2 separate regions of the Homo sapiens genome follow, and region 2 is linked to region 1. The links are contacts of gene promoters, found by promoter capture Hi-C in human tissues and cell types (Jung and others, 2019). All regions are on one chromosome and are shown on one strand. Each heading gives the region's core, a stretch centred on a gene start or on the middle of the fragment in contact. The rest is flanking DNA. Distances are from core to core; before and after follow the strand shown.

Region 1 (6,511 bases), core at 2,099-4,598:
GTGATGTAGAAATAGGGGGAAATCTTTAGAGTGCATGGATTCCCATGGTGGAACCTAGTAAATAAGGTCAAGTGCTTTATGCTGTCTTTGTTTTTACACTGCTTTCTAGCCTACTTTCCCACATTCTTTGTAAGCCTAATTCTCTAACGCTCCCATCTAATTTCTGAATGCTCTCATTTCCTCCAACAAAATTCCTTGCAGAAGCCAGCTAATTGTAGTTTTCTGTTGTTTGAAACCAATAGAATGTTTGAAGGATTAAATGAGATAAGGTGTTTAAAGAGTTTATTTAAAAGCCCGCTACAGTATAAGTGATCAATAGATGTCAACATTAATTATTATCATCTATCATTAATCCCTTACCATATGCCTGCATAGTTCTTGTTTGTTATATACTTTCACTTAATCTTCAAATAAGCATTTAAAGATGAGGAAAATGGAAATTCAAAGAAATGAAGTAATATGCGCAAAGTCAGAGTTCAAACATGCAGATCTTCATTCGTATGTCTGCTTAAATGTTGCAAGCCATGGAGCCTCAAAGACAATATTGTCTAATAGAAACAGTGCCAGGCACTCTTTCTTTGCCCTCTTTTATTCCCTTTCACGGGAAGCACAACCATCTAACATTATGTTGTCTATCTGATTGTTCTCATCGTATTGTTCATCTCCTGTATTCCATTGCAAGTTTGATGGGTTTGCCCACTGCTTTGTCTCCAGCACTCAGAATGGTGTCTGGCAAATGGTTGGTGCTCAATAAATATTTGCTGAATCACTAACTGATTGAATAACTGATTAAATGAAGGTTTACTTAAGTCCAAATTGTAGGCATTTCCTGCCAAGTGCTGTGGGCATTACAAAGAAAAATATGATGCAGCTCCAGACTTCAATGGACTCACAGTCTAGAGTAAGAGTTTAGATAGGAGCAAAGCTAACACTATCTCAAGGGGCCATAAAATAGGCTTAGAAAATATGCCCTGTGGTTCAGAGAAAGCAGAGATCAAGTCTGGATTCAGGAAAGGCTTCCCAGAAAAGGAAGATTTTAAAGTGGGTCTTGGAAGATGAGTAAGGTTTAGATATGTGGAAAGGGGAAGAAAAACATGTCCTAAGGAGAGGACAACGTGAGCACGTAAAGAGTGGAAAACAAACTCAGATTAGCTGGTGAGTGGTGGGAGTGGTGAAATCTAAGTAAGAGGGCAAGCCAGATCAGGAGGGCCTCAGACTTTGTCCTGCAGCAATTATTTCAATCATTTATCACTTACACATCTAGCGGCTACTGTGTGCTGGCCACTGGAAATATAGTGGTAAATAAAACCAGCAATGATCCTGCCTCCTTACCGATTCCATTACAAAGGGAGAGAGAGAAAATAAACAAACAAAAATATAAAATGTTGTGCTCTAGAAAAAAAAATATTAAGCAGTATAAGGGGATTTGAGGCAAATAAGTGAGGCTGGAGAGCTCTACATGGGGCAATCAAGGAAGACTGCCCTGAGGAGGGGACATTTAATCAGAGATCTGAATGGAGTGATTAAAGCATGAAAAGGACTTGGGCTGCACTGACCAATACGGTAGTCACTAGCCATACACAGTTATCAAACACAAGAAATGTGAATAGTGTAAATTGAGAAGTGTGGTAAATGTAAAACATATACTAAATTCCAGACTTAGTACCAAACAAGGAATGTAAAAATATCAATAATAGGTAAATATATATTAAAATTTTAAACATTATTTTAAATACGCTAAGTTAAATAAAACTATTATCGAAATTAAATTCACTTGTTTCTTTTTTTAATGAGGCTACTAAAAACTTTAAAAGTACATATGTGGCTCACATAATATTGCCAATGGATAGCACTGATCTAGCATTCTAGGTAGAAGAAATAGCCAGTGCAAAGGCCCTGTGGTAGAAAGCTGTTCTAATGGCAATGGAGAGTTATTAAAAGTTTTTAAGGAGAGTAATTTGTTAGATTGAAGCCTAAGGAAAAATAATAACAACAAATGCAAGTACATAACAAACAAGAACGTGCAGAATGAATTAAAGGAAGAAGACTGGAATCAGGAAAGCAGTTAGTGTGTAAGAGTCAATGCCAGGGGAAATGAGGGCCTGCCTTACAGTGGAACTAAGGGGATGGGCAGGGATGGACAGGCTTCAGGGACTGACAGGAAAAGGTACATGGGGAAAAGAAGTCAAGTTTGGCTGTGGTTTTATCTCGCAGTGAGCCTAATTAGAAAATCTATCTCCATTAACCTAACAGCAGAGGGATACAGAGAAGAGGACAAGGAGGAGGACTATGGGCAGGGAATTGAGGGAAGGGATGGCTTCAAGATAATGAATTAGTCTTTGCTAAATATTACTTGATTTTCTCCTATATCCTCAACTTCAGGACTGCAGCTGGCTTTTTCTCTCTTGAGTTTCTGACCCTGCCTCACTGTAAATCATTTTCTTAGCTGTTCGGCTCTACTATGGGTTTCTAAAGCAACTGTGAAGTCTGCGCAGGGGAAAAACAAAAGAGATCCATCATGAATAAGATTACCAACCAGCTGATTGGTATTTCACTAAGAAAGAAACTGTTGCATTAGCTGACATTATACATATTTCCCTCTTGCTTTTTTCTTCTCTCTCTCTCTCTTTTCCTTTTTCATTCTCTTATTTTTTTCATCCTCTGGACTAAACTATATTACTGCATACAGAAGTCTGACACCCACTTAGAAAGTTCTTTCTCTAGAGACACACACACAAAAGCCATCTTTTTCCTGAGATTGAAAGGAGCAGGGTGACTGCTTGAAGCTGAGTGTAAAGACCACCAGTGGGAAGAAATGACACTGAAGCAGTCTGCTTACTCTCTAGTGAAGAAGGTATTATAATTCTCTTACAGATGCGAAAACTAGTCTCAGACAGGTTTGATAATTTCTTCACAGAGCCACAAGGTAGCAGAGCAGGGACCTTAAGCAGATCTATGTTATCTCATGCCCCTGTTAGCACTCAAAATTTCCAAATGGAACAAACCCCCAATGGCTGCCTCTAGTGCCCTGTAACAATGAATTATTTGATCTCTGTGGCTTCTTGAGTCTTTAAGGTAATTTAACTCTTTTTTTTTTTTGCAAAAATAAACAAACCAGGGCACACAGTGAGAAGTTCTGGGCAGAAGTGAGGGAAAGTTCAGAGGAGCTGACTCCAGCCACATACCTCCACGCAGGGCTCCCAGCTTTCTGGTCTCACGCAGGAGAGGAAGGCCATGGCTGGGATCAGAGTCCCAGCCAGGCGCGAGGCAGACATCATCCTGGCATCATCCTCACTGCTTCTGTGAGCAGCAGTGGCCCTGTGAATGCGTGGCTCGCTATCACCGTCTGACCGAGCAGTTTCTGAGGCACTGGTGTCTTCTCTTCCTCGAGCCGCCCCACAGCAATTGGTGTATTCAAAGCAGTTCTGGGCTAAAGGGTGAGAGGAAGTGAAAGCGGCAACCTTAGCATTCTGGACTTTTGTTTCTCTAATAGTTATCTCTTTTGTCACAGGAGAGGAAGTTAGAAGAAGAAAACGCCTGCAGACCAGTGGCTAAAGAAACAGCAAGAGGAAGCTAGTTGGCTTTTATCCCAATTAGTCATCTGACCTCTGCCTGGGCTTGGTGAATTTAGGAAAACAATCAGGTTCTATTAAAATAGCCCTTGTAACTCTCTAGGATGACGGTGATTTTCCAATTTTGTTTCAGCTGTGGAAACACTATTTGTATTAGTTTGCTGGGGCTGCCATAAGGAAATACCACAGACTGGGTGGCTTAAACAACAGACATTCATTTTCTCACAATTCTAGAGGCTTCCAGTCTGAACTCAAGGTGTCAGCAAGTGTGTCTGAATTCTAATCTCCCCTTCTTATAAGGACACCAGTTATGTTGGATTAGGGCCCACCATAATGACCTCATTCTACCTTACATACCTCTTTCAAGGCTCTCTCTCCATATACAGTCATAGTCTGAGGTAGAGGGGTTAGGACTTCGATATGTAGGTTTTTGCAGGACACAATTTGGCCCGCCCCTTCTTGTGAAGAAACTCACATACAAAACTGAAAATAAACCTCAACTGAAACACAGTTTGAAAAGTACAAGAAGATTGGGAAAAGTCTGGGATTTCAGAATGGAATATACTGAAGTTCAGATCTCAGCTGGGTGACTCATGGCTTTGAGGCATTGGTCAAGTCATGTAAACCGCTAAGCTTTACTTTCTTTCTTTTCTTTTTTCATTTTCTGTATTATGGTAAAATCACATAACATAACATGACATAACATAAAATTTATTATCTTGACCATTTGTATGTGTACAATTTAGTGGCATTAATTATGTTCATATTTTTGTACAATCATCACCACTATTCATTAATAAATAACTCCCCATTTCCCCTTTCCCTAGGCCCTTGAATCTATGCACTACTTTTGTCTCTATAATCTTGACTACTCTAGGCAGCTCTTAGAAGTGGAATCATACAGTATGTATCTTTTTGTCACTGGCTTATTTCACTTTGCATAATGTCCTCAAGGTTCTTTTCTGTGTAGTATAGATCAAAGCCTCCTTCCTTTTTAAAGCTGAACAATATTCCATTGTATGTATAGACCACATTTTGCTTATCCATTTGTCTGTTCATGGACACTTGCATTGTTGCCACACGTTAGCTATTGTGAATAATGCTGCCATAAACATGGTTGTACAAATATCTCTTAAAGTCTCTGTTTTCAATTCTTTTGGATACGTACTCAGAAGTGAGATTGCTGGATCATGTGGTAAATCTATTTTTAATTTTTTGAGCACCCACCATATGATTCTCCACAGCATCTGTACCATTTTACATTCCCACAAATGGTGTACAGGAGTTCTCATTTTTTCACATCTTCACCAACACTTATTATTACTTTCTGGTCTGTAAAATGTGGTAATCACTTTTAATCATAGCAGAAGCTTGCATTTATAAAATGTATTAAAATAAAGATACGCAATGGTAGTCAAATTATACAAACCTACCAACCTTTAGTTTTCTGGTCTTTAAAACGAAGATAATCGCATGTGTTTTGAATTACTGAATTAAGCTAACTTACGTAAAACGTCTAGTCTAGAGCATCATCATTACATTCCATAAATGAGAGCTATGATGAGGATTGAAAATGTGGATAGAATGAAGATGATAATATGTATCTCAAAGTATTGTATTGGGATTAAATGAACTGGCATTTGTAAAGCTTTTAGGACAGTGTCTGGAAAGTAGCAAGTGCAATGTAAGTTTCTGTTAAATAAGAACCTGATTTAAAACAGGAATATTATGCATGCTAAGTCCTAGATAGTTCTACTGTAATATCCTCCAAGCACTTCCAATCCAACGTGTCAAAAACCAAGCTGTGAGGGACCATTTTGTGGTGGACTGGGCACAAACTCTTGTAGACTCCATCAACACACCAGTAGAGTTAAGATAAAAACAACCTCCATGTCAAAGCTTTGCTCTGAGTATTGAGATTATTCATGTAAAGATTTTAGAGCAGTGCCTGACACAGAGTAGGTGCTCAATAAAGTTTAGTTCCCTGGAAAGTTAATGGTGTTTCACTTTGACATAGTCATCCAAGGTGGAAATCTCTTTGACTTTATTTCCCTTACTTCCTCATTTCTCATGCTAAACATGTATTAACCCAATTGTCTTCTTTTCTGTGTTCTTGATGTTCTGGCATCTGGGAAGAGACTGCACTTACCAGGGCTAGTTAGTTCTAAAAAATAGCAAAAGATTTGCTCTGGAGCATGCCTTATGCACACTAAGCAATCCAGAGCCCTTCCTCTGAACCACCTCCTCTACCTGGCTTTTACACCCAAGTAGACACCGTTATTCAGCCCTAATCATCACAGGTCCAGGTACCAGACAACTAGAGACAGACCCTCTACCCCAGAGCCCACTGAGGTTATTCAAACTAGCCAGTCCTATCCCTGCTTACCCTGCCTTGCCTTGCCTTTTCTGCAGTAACAACAATAAAAGCTTGTGCCTATAATTTCCTCTTGCTCCCTCTGCCTCCTGACGGACTCTGGTGCTACCAATGTGGCCCTGCATGGTGTGGCATGCCCCCGCTTCTTAGGAACTGTAAACAACAAACTATATTTCCAGTGGCATCATCTTCTGATCTGTTGTTTTCACCATAGCCGAATAATAAAACCTACATTTTAAAAAATGTTCCACCAAGTTGTAGAAATTGTATCTGTAAAATAATTCCAAAATGTCAGTCGCCATTTCTACTACCATTACTATTGAACATATCCCACGGCCTAGACTAGTTCAATATACTTTAAGAAGCCTCCCAAAGTCTAGATTCACCTCTTTCAATGTACCAGCTCTTCCAATTGATTCTTCATCCTGCTGTTGAAAACATCTTTCTAAAATAGAAATACGTTTAACTCATGTCATGCTAATAATGATTTCAGGCTGGGTATTGCCTAGATAAAAAATCTCCTGGCCTACCCCCATCACATATACACATACAGAAACACTCCACT
Region 2 (6,912 bases), core at 837-3,336, 1.7 Mb before region 1:
AACAAATCACAAAAGATATTTTATTAAATTAATACAATTTAATGAAGATATTAGTAATCATATTATAATATGCAGGAGATGACATTTAATCCCATGTTTCTACATCATTTGCTCTTCATTCTTTCTCTTATTTCAGGTATGGGAAGAAGTGAGGTCAGTGGGAATTAACTTTTCATTTCCAATTAATGAGGTGAGATTTTTGGAGAAAAGTAGGCCTAAAAAATGGCATGGAAATGGGCTAGAAGGAGGGAGGCAGAGCACTTGGAGAATAAAGGAATCTTTGGGGGAAGTCCCAAATCCCAGCTGTTATCCACCAAGTAATCACGTACTGCAGAGAGTGAAAGACTGGACCAGATTCAGTCACTGACCTGGAGATGAAATTCTCCATTTTCCATTATCAACTCAGCCAGAAATTTACTCCCCCTGGAGCCATATTTAGCCAACTTGCTATCTCCCTCCACCCTGCCTGGTTCATAAGCACAGATATAGGCATGGAGGTGAACAGACCCAAGCATTATCTTCCCAAAGGGCAAACTATTTTTGTACTGCATCAAGCAGAGTGCAGGGACCAGAAATGGTTGTTGCAAATAAAATAACAATACTAAATCCTGTTTGCAGTCCTGAGAGTGATGGGTCAAAGGAGATAAGAAGAGAAGATGAAGAATCAGAACTGAAAATCTTCAGCCCACTGGCTATAGTAAAGTAAATACATTTTAGAGAGGTGCAGTTTGGTATTGGAGAAAGAACATAGATTTGACAGTGGAAAGAACTGTGTTTACGCTCCCCATTTTACCTTCTCCTGTGGCTAGATTTATAGCACACCACCTCTACGTTACTGGCCTCAGTGAGATGACATTTCAAATGGGAATGCAATTTTTGATGCCACATAGAGTCGTTCTGGGTATTAATGTGAGAGTAAACATGAGAGTGTTTATTATTTACCTTCTACTCATTCTCTAGGGTCAAGACTAAGTGACCCTTCCCTTCCACTCTCAACGACTTTTATCTATGTGACCGTTCTTCTTCCCAAATCTGTTCGAAGAGCTTGTCCTAGCCACATTACAAAAAGCAAAATGAAATAGATGAAATTAATTATAATCACATTTTATTAAATCCCATATATCAAAAATACATCACTACAACATATCACCGATATAAAAATTATTATAGACATTTAACATTCCTTTCCACACTCTGTCTTCAATACCAGTTGTGTGTTTCACACATACAGCATATCTTAATTCAGACTTACCACATTTCAGTTGTTCAACAGCCACGTGGGGCTAGGTGCTGCCACTTCTAAGAGCTGGTCCAAGAGGAGACAGCTTTCTCCATTTCTGTGGATGGGTTACTTTCCTAAGGTTACTCTTGGCTGGCAAAAACCATGTCAGTGGCCTGGGGAATACTCTGTAATACCAGCTCAGTTTTAGAATTTTAATCAGTTTAACCATTTTATTTCTGATATTTGAGATTCAAGCATCAGATTGAAATTGGGATGGAGCAGATTTTAGAACCTGACCTTTAAAGATCATTTTAGCTCTAATTCCTGATTCAGTGCCCCACAAATACTTCCAAAGGCATCTCCTGTTGTTCAGATAAATAAAGCTGAGAAGAGAGTGGGTCAGACCAGATTAAAACCCTAGTGCCCTTCTTTTTCCATCAGCAATGTTTAAGAGTTAGAATGCCATTGGATTCCAAGGGATTCAGTTTGTGCAGCATGAATGCAGATGTGCCCAAGTGTATAGGACCCTTGCTCAGTCTACCATATCCTAAATTTGGCAAGCTCACTAAAGCATGGAGGTTTATTCAGTTTAAATTGAATGAGAATGGTGAAGATTGTTAAAAAATAATGTCAACCACAACAAAAATCAAAAACAAAAATAAAACAGAGATCCCTCACTTGCTAATAAAATAACATTTATTCCAAATCTTTAGACTAGACCAAAGATCTCCTAGAACCAGACAGTCCCAACTGAATCTGTTAATCCTAAAATTTTAAGGCGATTATGTGGAAAGGTTTTCTTGTATTTCTAAAAGCACAGAAGCCCCAGGAGAGGTTTAGTTTCCCCTACATTTTGGTAGAGGCCTGTGTGAGAGGTCTAGACCTAAGACCATTTATTAGGCAGTTGAGACCCACTGGTCTTATCTAAGGCAGACGGCACCTTCCCAGGAGACAGATGTTTGTGCAATGAATTTTGGGCACAGTTAAATAGGCTCACAACTTGAGGGGTATTTGTTTGCAGAAGAGAAATGCAGTTTGCATTCCACAGGAGACCTAGAGAGCAGCAGAATATCAACACAGCTCTCCAGGAGCATATTCAACCAGGTTTAAGGTAGCAATGAACAGGCATAACTATTCTGACTTGGGAATAATGCATGCTGCTAGCACTTGAAAATGGGTTGAAAAAAACATCTCTCTATCTTTTCCCAGCTCACAAGCTGCGTTTTGTGAGAACAGTAAGAGGAGCTAGGAACCAGGTCTGATCTTAGCTCATTGATCATGGGACTTTGCAGCAAGTCTTGTCTATGGAATATCAATGAGAAATGAAGGATCCCTTGCTCATGAAACCCCTTGGCTTTGAAGAGCAAGTGGCATCTATGTTGTCCTACCCTGGGTAACTTATAGGACTTAGGAAAACAGCCAGAAAGAGAGCACTTGTTGGGCCTTTTTCTAGCTCCTAGGTGCATTTCTGCTACCAGTTTTGTTGTTAGTGTTGTTTGCAGAATGAACTTTTTTTTTAAAGTGCTACCTTGACCTACTTTATATAGCATATGATAAAAATCAGCCGGTATAGTGTGTGATAAAAATTAAACATTGTATATAATAGGGAAGTGTTTTCCATTGTTTGAGTAGTTGTCATAATACAGGTTAATGCAGCAAGCAGAAAGTATATTCTGGTTGCTCACTATATGTTAGAATTTTCTAATATCTCTGCCTATAGAAAGAAAGAGATAAAGAAAATTATATTAAGTGTTTGTGAGCTTAGGTGTGTTGATTTTTTTTCATTCCTTCACTCAGTAGACATTGACTGAATCCATACCCCATGCTAGATAATGCCTTAGGTTCTAGGTTTTAACCCTAAATCTACCATATATAAACCATGAGGTCTAGGGCACTTTCTGCACCTTAATCTCCTTGACAATGAGATAATACACGATCTGCTTTGGTCATACACTGGATGAAGAATTAAGTGTGTCAGATGCTATGCCAAGCTATAATATTTTTAATCCTTACTCAGTTAGTTCTCTAAGCTAAGTATTATGGGCCAGTTTTACATATGAGGCCGATTTTACATATGCAACTTGGAGAAGTGAAATAGCCTAGATTAATTGAATTAATGGCAGAGGAGGGATTTAAATCCAAGTTCATCTGGCTTCAAAGATTATGCTGTTAGTTATAGATTTCATAAATATGAAGGTCTTCTAACCACACTGAACTATTTTGTAATGTTTTGTTATGACATAGCTAATTTCATGTACCAACCCCAAATATCTCTATAGACTCTTAGGAGCTTTGTGATTGCTTTTACCCATCAGCTTTTAGAAGGTGGGAGATAATCTGGCAGGACAGAAAGTGGATCATTGTGCTTCTTAGGTGCAGTGCATCAGATAGATCAACACTTCAGCTGAGATTTTGTTGCTTTAGCTGAGACTTGAGCAGCAGAGTGGGTGCTGGATTGGGTCTTGAATCTATACCTCGTGGGTGTAATAGAGCAGGTAGCTATGCTGCAATTAGGTCCTGAGTACACACTAGAGCTCATGGACACACCAGTCGTCAGAGATGAAAGGTACTTTCAAGATGCTTTCACTAAATTTTCTCAAAACAGAGGCCTACAGAGATTAAATAGCTTTCTTAGGTCTGTATGAGAGTTCTCCAGAGAAACAGAGCTAACAGGATGGCTAGAGATATTATTGATAGATAGATGGATAGATAGATATTATAAAGAATTGGCTCATGTGATTATGGAAGTTAAGAAGTCCCAAGATTCTGGGGAATAATTTGACAAACTGGGCTGAAGATGTAGCTTCAGTCTGAGTCTAAAGGCTGAGAACTAGGAAAGCTAATGTTACAGTTCAAGTCTGAAGGCAGGAAGAAGCCAGTGTTTCAGTTGTAAAGCAGTCAGGCAGGAAGAATTCTTTCCTACTAAGAAAACACAGGGAGAAAGGGTCAGCCTTTTAGTTCTGTTTTGGCATTCAACTGATTGGGTGAGGGTATCCATATTAGGGACAACAATCTATTTTATTCAGTCTAATGATTTTAGTGTAATCTTGTCAAAAATACTCTTATAGAAATACTCAGAGTAATATTTGAGCAAATATCTGGACACCCCATAGCCCAGTCAAATTGATGCATAAAACTAACCATCATGGAGTCACACTGTTGAATAGGGGAAAAAGCCATGAAGAGAACACACAAGCCTTTGGATTGGATTTTTGGATTATTTTCTTTTACACACTGATTTCATAGAATCCATGATGTATTGATTAAAAATAGCCACTTGTATACATTAACAAAACCAATTGATCTCTAGATCGAGGAGTGGGAAAATGGCATATACAGATTACTGCTAAGTGTTTTATTGGTATTTTCAAAGATAGATATCTGAAATATGCTCTGTAGTTTACTTGATCCAAGGAAAAGAGGTAGTTAAAAAACATTTTAAGCATTCCCTTCCTAATCACATTCACTTTCTCCTGTTATTTGTGATGCTTTTGAGTTGAGACATGTAAAGTTAAAAAAATAGAATCAATTTTGCACTATCTTTGGTAATGTTTAATAACATCATTAGAACATTTCAAGATTAACTGTGACCATTGAATTGTAAAATGTGTAAGGTTCAGCAGTATTTAAGAATCTTTCTGATAAAGTGTTCTGGGATTCTGAAACAACCTTGAAAAAGATGTAAGAAAAATATTATCTCCATGTTGAAGATGAAGATACTGGTTTAAGATGTTGCTGAGGGTCACCCAACTAGGGTGAAGGTGACTGTCCCAAGCTTCACCTGATATTTTTAAGGTGAACATTCAAAAGAGAATATTTAAAATTTCAAATTATTTGTTTATATCTTTGCCTAGGAGCAACTAATGGAAAGATTTGATTAGGGTCAAAGAGGCTGGCAATGTGGACATTTGTTGTGTGACATTTACATAGACATGTATAGCACTTATCTCTTTTCCATATTTCTGGTAATAGTACCCCACTTCTTTCAGAAGAGTCATTTTTTTTCTTAGTTATTCTGGTTGAGATAATGTTGAGATATTCCCTGGATTCGAAGTGTGAGAGGAACATGATGGGCAATCAGTGATGGGAACACAACATTATCGCAGCCAGTAGGATACAATCTTGAGATTTTGTTTGGGACTGTTGGGAACAGTTAAGATTGGCATTTGAGCTGTGCATGGAGAAAGTCAGCCTGAGGACCAAGCCAACCCAGAGAAAGAAAGAGCCGAGAGAGGCAGGATGTGTCCTTGTGACATGGAGACAAACCTGAAGAATGTTTTACCTTTTGACTTTTCAGTTACATCAACCAAGAAATGCTTTTTTTTTCTTTTTTTGCTTCATTCAGTTTCATATGAATTTTCTGTCATTTACAGGCAAGAGAGTGCTAATTGATATAGCAAGTTTGATTACTCCCTCTCAAAATCTGTCTGAAGTTGCTGTAGCCCCCTGGGGTGTGTAGTGATCCTGCAAGATTATTAGCATGGAAAAGTATGCAGCTTGGTTGTATCACGGTCTGATTATTTTTTGTTTATAGCTTGATTTTTTTTTAGACAGAGTCTCACTCTGTTGCCCAGGTTGGAGTGCAGTGGCGTGATCTCGGCTCACTGCAACCTCCGCCTCCCAGTTTCAAGCGATTCTCCTGCCTCAGCCTCCCAAGTAGCTGGGGCTACAGGTGTGCACCACCACGCCCAGCCAATTTTTGTATTTTTATTAAAGACAGGGTTTCACCATATTGGTCAGGCTGGTCTTGAACTCCTGACCTCGTGATTTGCCCACCTTGGCCTCCCAAAGTGCTGGAATTACAGGTGTGAGCCACTGCGCCTGGCTGGTCTGATTATTTAATAGTGTCATTATCAGCAAGATCTAATACAAACAAATGTCCTAGCACAGAAGAACAATGATTAAATTCATTAACCATGGCTTTGTTTACCCTCTCATTGTTAAATCAAACACACATCCTTGGTATACCTCTCCCTAGTAAAGCTTTCAGTGACCACATATTAACAAAAGAGGATTTGATGTCTACAATGTCTGAATTGCATAAATGTATTTCACACAAGCAGCAGCAGGGACTCAGGCTCTGTACATAATTTTCTTTGCTGACGTCTGTAATAAAACACAGATAATGATACAGGATATGCAGCACTTGACCTTCAACATAGAAAGGTAAAGATATTCTTAATTCCGAATTTAGATAATTCTTTCTATTTCATCTTGCCATTGGACAGACATGCTTTTATCTCTAAAATCTACAAAAGGCCTTCAACCATCTCAGGTAGAGAACATGTGGGACTGAAACTTAGGTTTCATCTCCTTTGCCTTATCCAATTGATTGGTAGTTTTGCTTGAGGATTTTGTTTTGGATTTTGCAAGGGAGAGTTCCATGATGGATTAGTAATGGCCCAGGCAAGAGGTGGACAAGAGGTAGTACTAAGGAGAAATCAAGAGATATTGAAAACTGACGAATATGTGATAGTTTGAAACAAAGACTAACCAGCTAAATTCAAGCTAATTATAATAGAAGTAAATTAAAACAATGATAAAAAATATATTTGTTATAAAATAACATCCCAACCATACCTCCTCAAAATAGTGAACCTGAAAATGAACCTGTAAAGAAAATGTGTTTATATGCCAGTGTAGTGTCACTTAGCACTCAAGTAGAAGAGACTGCAGTCTCTGTGTTACAT

What was found. Contacts are between HindIII fragments. The study calls those that stand out against the background at their distance.
Region 2: a fragment that was not itself captured here is called in contact with the fragment with the promoter of TLR4 in region 1 in 1 of the 25 tissues and cell types used here (mesenchymal stem cells).

Annotation. Positions count from the first base shown.
Region 1 is chr9:117,701,240-117,707,750 of GRCh38, reverse strand. TLR4 (toll like receptor 4) reads right to left here and starts at 3,348. Exons shown (of 3, transcript NM_138554.5): 1 at 3,186-3,348. The coding sequence starts at 3,278. RefSeq lists enhancers at 1,463-2,662, 2,778-3,278, 3,249-3,318, 3,329-3,378, 3,279-3,779 and 1 more. The HindIII fragment of the contact is 6,617 bases long and covers 1-4,574 here.
Region 2 is chr9:119,379,203-119,386,114 of GRCh38, reverse strand. No RefSeq gene overlaps it. Among named protein-coding and RNA genes, the nearest start is that of BRINP1, 13 kb to the right of the region's middle. The HindIII fragment of the contact is 9,505 bases long and covers 1-6,838 here.